Linked DNA regions of Homo sapiens: region 1 is linked to region 2. Evidence: promoter capture Hi-C in 16 types of primary human blood cells and fetal thymus (Javierre and others, 2016). All regions are on one chromosome and are shown on one strand. Each heading gives the region's core, a stretch centred on a gene start or on the middle of the fragment in contact. The rest is flanking DNA. Distances are from core to core; before and after follow the strand shown.

Region 1 (3,238 bases), core at 79-2,578, 720 kb after region 2:
AGTTTGAAGTCAGGTAATGTGATGCCTTCCACTTTGTTCTTTTTGCTTAGGATTGCTTTGGCTATTTAGGCTCTTTTTTGGTTCCACAGGAATTTTAGAATAGTTTTTTCTAGTTCTGTGAAAAATAATGTTTGCAGTTTGATAGGAATAGCATTGAATCTGTAAATTGCTTTGGGTAGTATGTCCATTTTAATGATATTGATTCTTCCAATCCATAAGCATGAAATGTTTTTCCATTTGTGTCATGTATGATTTCTTCTAGCAGTGTTTTGTAATTCTGATGTAGAGATCTTCTATCTCCTTGGTTGAATGTATTCCTAGGTATTTTATTTTTTTTCTGTCACTATTGTAACTGGGGATTGCATCCTCCATTTGGTTCTTAGCTTGAATGTTTTTGGTGTATAGAAATGCTACTGGTTTTTGTACATTGATTTTATATCCTGAAACTTTACTGAAAATGTTTATTATTTCCAGGAGTCTTTTGGTGGAGTCTTTAGGGTTTTCTAGGTATAGAATCATATAGTCCTTGAAGAGATATAGTTTGACTTTTTCTTTTTCTACTTATATGCCTTTTGTTTCTTTCTTTTGCCTGATTGTTCTGGCTGTCCATTCCAATACTGTGTTGAACAGGAGGGGCGAGAGTGGTCATCCTTGTCTTATTCCATTTCTTAAAAGGAAATCCTTTCAGTTTTTGCCCATTTGGTATGATGTTGGCTGTGGGTTGTCATAAATGGCTCTTATTATTTTGAGTTATATTCCTTCAATGCCTAGTTTGTTGAAGGTTTTCATCATGAAGAAATGTTGGATTTTATCAAAAGTTTTTTCCATGTCTATTGAGATGATCATATGGTTGGATTTAATTCTGTTTATGTGGTGAATCACATTGATTGATTTGCATTTGTTGAAGCAACCTTGTATCTCAGGAATGAAGCCTACTTGATCATGGTGAATTAACTATTTAACGAGCTGTTGGATTGGTTTGCTAGTATTTTGCTGAGGATATTTGCATCTATGTTCATCAGGGATATTGGCTTGTAGTTTTCTTTTTTTGTTGTTTCTTTGCCAGGTTTTGGTATCAGATTGATGCTGGTTTGTAGAATGAATTATAGAGGAGTCCTTCCTCACTTTTTTGGAATAGTTTCAACTGAGTTAGTTGTGACTATCTTATTATTATTATTATTACTATTGAGATAGGGTCTCACTCTGTCACCCAAGCTGGAGTGCAGTGGCAGAATCAAGGCCTACTGTAGCCTTGACTTCCTGGGCTCAAGTCATCCTTCCACCTCAGCCTCCTTAGTAGCTGGGACTACAGGCACACCCCACCATGTCTGGCTAATTTTTTTTATTTTTGGTAAAGACGGGGTCTCACTATGTTGCCCAGACTGGTCTTGAACTCCTGGGCTCAATCAATCCTCCTGACTTGGACTCCCAAAGGGCTGGATTATAGGTGTGAGCCACTGAACCCAACCTGTTCTGTCTATTTTAAGTCTTTTCAAAGAACCAACTTTTAACATTATAGATTCTATTTATTGTACTTCTGTTTTTGAGACCATGAATTTTGCTCTTAACTTTATCATATTCTTCCTTACAATTTATTTTGTCTTGTTCCTTTTTTTTTTTTTTGAGATGAAGTCTCGCTCTGTTGCCTAGGTTGGAGTGCAGTGGTGTGATCTTGGCTCACTGCAAGCTCCACCTCCCAGGTTCATACCATTCTCCTGCCTCAGCCTCCTGAGTCGCTGGGACTACAGGCACCCACCACCACGCCCGGCTAATTTTTTGTACTTTTAGTACAGATGGGGTTTCACTGTGTTAGCCAGGATGGTCTTGATCTCCTGACCTTGTGGTCCACCCGCCTCAGCCTCCCAAAGTGCTGGGATTACAGGCGTAAGCCACCGCGCCCGGCCCTTTTGCAGACTTTTGAAGTTGCATGCACAACTTACTCATTCTTTCTTAACACAAACATTTAAGGCTATTTTTCTCTAAAAACTGCTTTTGCTAAGTCCTTTATGCTTTGATATGTAATCTGAGGGAAGATACGCATTCCAGGCAGAGAGAACAGCCAAGACTGGAGAAAGGTGTATGCCTGAAATGTTTAAAGAACAGTCCAGAGCTGATGTGGCAGAGGAAGATAAGTGAGGCACACAGTGGCAGGTCATGGGGTCAGGAGAGAAGATGAGACCAGATCACTTAGGGACATGTAGGTCACCCTAAGAACTTTGGCTTTTGAGTGAAACAAAAAGCCATTGGAGAGCCATGAGAAGAATTGTAATATGTCCATCTTATCTTCTTAGAAGTGCCCTCTATTAAGGCCAGGGTCAGGAGTTTGGTGAGAGAAACTCAAGAATGCTAGATTCATTTAGTTTCATTTGCTGCCTTTAGTAAGCGATTACTAGGTGTTAGACACTGTGCTAGCTACTTTTCAAACATTTTATTTTAATTTTCAACAGCTCAATGAGAAAGCTATAACAATAACAAACAATAATAACAGCAATAGGAATAGTTGGCATTTATTGACTAGTTACAACGTGCCAGGCACTATTTTATGCACTTTCATCACTTAATCCATGCCCAAACCAATGAAATAGATAAAACTATTGTCCCCATTTTATAAATGAGGAAACTGAGGAATAGAGAGACTAAATCACTTGTCCAAGGTCACCTGGCTAAACTCAGGCAGTCTGGCTGCAGAGCTTTACCTCTTAACCAATATACAATACTGCCTCCCTTGCAGTAAGCTGTACTTTGAGGATGAAGAATGTTGGGCTTAGTGAAGTTACAGAACTTGCCAAGGTCACATCCTAGTAAGTGATAGCTATGGATTTTGAACCCAAGTTCATCTGACTCCTGATCCTGATTCCCTGGTGGCAGATGCTATCAGCTGATAGCCTCTCTGAAAATCCTGTTGGACATGAAAGTTCACAGTGAGAGAGGGTAGGCAACATCATCTTAGAAGAGAATGGCCAAATTATTCTGTAGGCCATGTATTTTCTCCTTTTGCTCCATTCTACCTTTCAGATGGAACTATTTTACTCTGTGTAACACTTGAGTGCTTGTTTCCTTCCATTCCTTGAGAACACTGGCCACTTCTTGTCCTTCTCTGTATCTTGAGCACCTAACACAGTGCTAGGAAGTAGGTGCTTAATAAGTGCTTGTGGAATGCTAAAAGATTATTTAACCTCTTTCCTAGAAACGAAGACCCAGATTCATAGGAGCTTAACCTAATGCATGAAAAAGAGAG
Region 2 (3,462 bases), core at 335-2,834:
AATGTCTAATAACCACATGTGGCTAGTGGCTACCATACTGGACAGCATTAAAAGAATGATCAACTAAACCTACAGATCTCCATATGCAGCTGCTGGTTTTGGGACCATCTCCTTGACCGGCTTGCCATTGATTTTTGACCGAATTCTGAACTATATATACTACAGTTTGACATTACTGGCAACTCAATAAGGCAATGTCTTCATTTTTTATGTTACATTTGTACACCACTTAGTTTTCACATACGATTTCACACCTGATCCTCATTACAAACACGTGAATACGCAAAAGATTTCACACCTGATCCTCATTACAAACACGTGAATACGCATGTTATATCAGTTTTACAAATGAGGAAAGAACGTTCAGAGAAAAAAAGAGACAACCATTGAGTGTTAGAACTGAGAAAAAAAAAGTAAGTCTCCTGACCTCTGGTCAAATCTATTTACGCCCCAATAATACCACCTCCTTAATCAAAGTTGCACTTCTCTGTGCGACTGGTCTTTATTTCCTCCAGTGATTGTAAACTCCATGAAGAAAAGGACTGTTTTTCCTGACCACTGTATTCCCAGTGCCCAGTAAGGTGTTTTACAAGGAGGCAATATTTATTGAATGAATTAATGACGTTTCTGCTTTTCTCATTTTTAGTCGGTTAAATGTAATTTACTTTTTTAAAGCAACTGATGTGAAGAGCCAAAGTACGCCACCAAATTGGTAGGTTTTTAAAAGTTGAACTTTACTGCCAACATACTTCAAAAGAGAACGAGGGGGAAAGGCTCGGAGCCAAGGCCTGAGTTCTAGTCCTGACCCTGCCATGAACTGGCTGTGAGCCCTCACGTAAATTTTTTTAACTTCTCTGGGCCAGAGTTCTTATCTGTCAAAAGGGAAGAGTAGGGCTATAATCTTCACGATTCCGTGCACAGGTAGGGTTTTTGACATTAACTTGATGTGAGCCGGCTTCCTAACTCCTCACACCCTTCCTCCAGTCCCCTCTGCAACGGCCGACTTGGTGAGAGAGGTAACCACCGGGCCCTCTGGGTTCCCTATCCGCTTCCTAGGGGGGCCGACTCGACACCTAGGTGCAAGGTGGATCCCACGGGCCAGAACCGCCATCTTTCCCCATTGGCCTGACCCCAACCGCCACCCGCGGGCACTGGATGACGCGGACCTTACCTCTCCTCACAGTCTTTGCATTTCACCTGCAACGGGACTAGTTGGTGGAACAGCACTTGGCTCATGTTGGCTCGCTGCCTCGGCTGGTGTGCAGAAAAGCCCAACAGGCCCGGCCCTCGGGATTAGCCTGAGAGGTCCGGGTCCTGATAAAGTTTGAGTTTGGCGCTCGGCTTCTGCGGAGGAGGCGGGGAGGGAGAAACGAGGGGAAGGCGTAAGAGACTTGGCCCTCGCCAGCCACCATCGGATTCTTCCGGTTCTGCGGAGGATAAAGGGAAGACGGTTGTGGTAGTTCCGGGTATTAACCTGTGTGGCGCGGGGGCTGAGGCAGCCATGTTTGTTAAGGGAAGGAGACCCGAAGGAAGCTTCTAACTTTTCTTCTGGTTGCCGGATGCTGGACACCGGAAGCGAGCCCTAGAATTATGGCGACCTCCGCGACGTCGCCGCACGCGCCTGGTTTTCCAGCTGAGGGTAGATGCGGTTACTATGTGGAAAAGAAGAAACGGTTCTGCAGGATGGTGGTGGCCGCAGGGAAAAGATTTTGTGGTGAACACGCTGGAGCCGCGGAGGTGTGGTATCGCCCTACTCTCTCAAGAGTCGGAAATAAGTATCCTGGTCCTGTCGGTGCTGGAACCCGGCCCCTCCCCTCTTTGACAGCTTTCTGCTTGTGTCCCCTGGATTCTCCAGCTTTCACTTTAATAAACCCAGTTTTGCCCTCCTTGCGGAGCGATTATGAGTTCTAGTGATGAGAAATTTTTTATTTTTCTAAGTAAAGCGCCAGCAGTGACCCATTTATTTTGATCTATTTATCTCGATCTTAACTCATGGTAATGCTAGGTTTTAATTTTTACCCCAAGCTACCGCTCCGTCTTCCTGCTGGAAAGTGGTAGTTTAGAAAAAGTAGTGATTGAAGTCCCAAAGGTTTCACTAGTTGTGTTCTAATTGTTATTTCATGAAAGAGAAGCACTTCTCGTGAATGCGGTTGGAAGAAACTTTCTTTTAAAAATTTAGACTTGAGGCCCGGCGCGGTGGCTCACGCCTGTAATCCCAGCACTTTGGGAGGCCGAGGCGGGCGGATCACTTGAGGTCAGGAGCTCGAGACCAGCCTGGCCAACATGATGAAACCCTCTCTCTACTAAAAATAAGAAAATCAGCCGTGGCGCGAGCTACTAAAATTAAGAAAATCGTGGTGGTGCGAGCCTGTAACCCCAGCTACTCGGGAGGCTGAGGCAGGAGAATCGCTTGAACCCAGGAGGTGGAGGTGGCAATAATCCAAGATCACACCACTGCATTCCAGCCTGGGTGACAGCCAGACTGAATCTCAAAAAAGAAAAAAAAATTTTTTTCGACTTACAGTTTTTAAGAATGCAACTTTGCTGGAATGGGAAGGAAAGATTTTTAAATATATACGAATTGACCTTTTACAATTGAGAACAAAGCATACAATTTTGTTTGATAATTATGCATATAAATGTACTATCAAACACTTTATATTTGTATATATGTATATTACTTTAGGATATATATGAGATGGGAAAATAAAAACCAGAGGAGCAAAATGCTCATAGGAAGAGAGCATGTCCTTATAGTTCCACAGAACTATAAAGAATAAACCAAAGCGATCAGCATCAGATTTCATGCTTCTGAATGTTCAGTATTATTTGCATTATTTTATTTCTTAAGGAATTTATTCTTCTAGACAATATCCAGTGCAGATCAGTCCCCTGACCCCCTTCATCTGCCACTCTCCATCATAGTTGTAGTCTACTTCCTATTTTGTTTTGACTGGCATTTACCAAAAGTGAAGCATACTGAAACAAGGACATTCTTGTTTTGGAATATGGGAGACGTGATTTGTTGTGGGAACTCTGAATTATGCCCATAGTCTATTGACTGGTTTTGAGGGGACTGGCAAACATCCCTTGTTGAAGAATGAGAGTTATGATAGGAGAAGGATTTAGACTCCACCTTATCCAGATATATGGAAGGTGAAAACAAATAGTGATGATAGTAGAATATGAATAAATCCTTACAAGCTGATTAGTATTCCTATAGAGGAACGACATATTGTCATTAGACACTTGAAGAGAGACCGCAAAACATCAAGTGGAAACACTTTTATTGACTACTATCTCGTTTTAAATTGTGGCTATCCTCCTGAATCTGTAATTTATGATGTAACTGGATGTTGTGTTTCCATCTTTTTTTCTAAGTGTCATATATAGCTGTGATGACACCACTCATTTTTACCCAGTGGTTCTCGACTGGGACTGATTTTGCCTCCAGTGAACACT

Evidence for each region. The method cuts DNA at HindIII sites, captures the fragments that hold promoters and counts their contacts. A CHiCAGO score of 5 or more calls a contact.
Region 1: a fragment that was not itself captured here is called in contact with the fragment with the promoter of TRMT13 in region 2 in 2 of 17 cell types (monocytes and naive CD8 T cells); the score reaches 5.6 in monocytes.

Annotation. Positions count from the first base shown.
Region 1 is chr1:100,856,354-100,859,591 of GRCh38, forward strand. No RefSeq gene overlaps it. Among named protein-coding and RNA genes, the nearest start is that of EXTL2, 37 kb to the right of the region's middle. The HindIII fragment of the contact is 6,930 bases long and covers 1-3,238 here.
Region 2 is chr1:100,131,579-100,135,040 of GRCh38, forward strand. It overlaps TRMT13 (tRNA methyltransferase 13), which reads left to right and starts at 1,585. Exons shown (of 11, transcript NM_019083.3): 1 at 1,585-1,737. The coding sequence starts at 1,591. It overlaps SASS6 (SAS-6 centriolar assembly protein), which reads right to left and starts at 1,352. Exons shown (of 17, transcript NM_194292.3): 1 at 1,172-1,352. The coding sequence starts at 1,236. RefSeq lists silencers at 974-1,137, 3,275-3,462 and enhancers at 1,133-1,735, 1,140-1,259, 1,270-1,799. The HindIII fragment of the contact is 8,975 bases long and covers 1,532-3,462 here.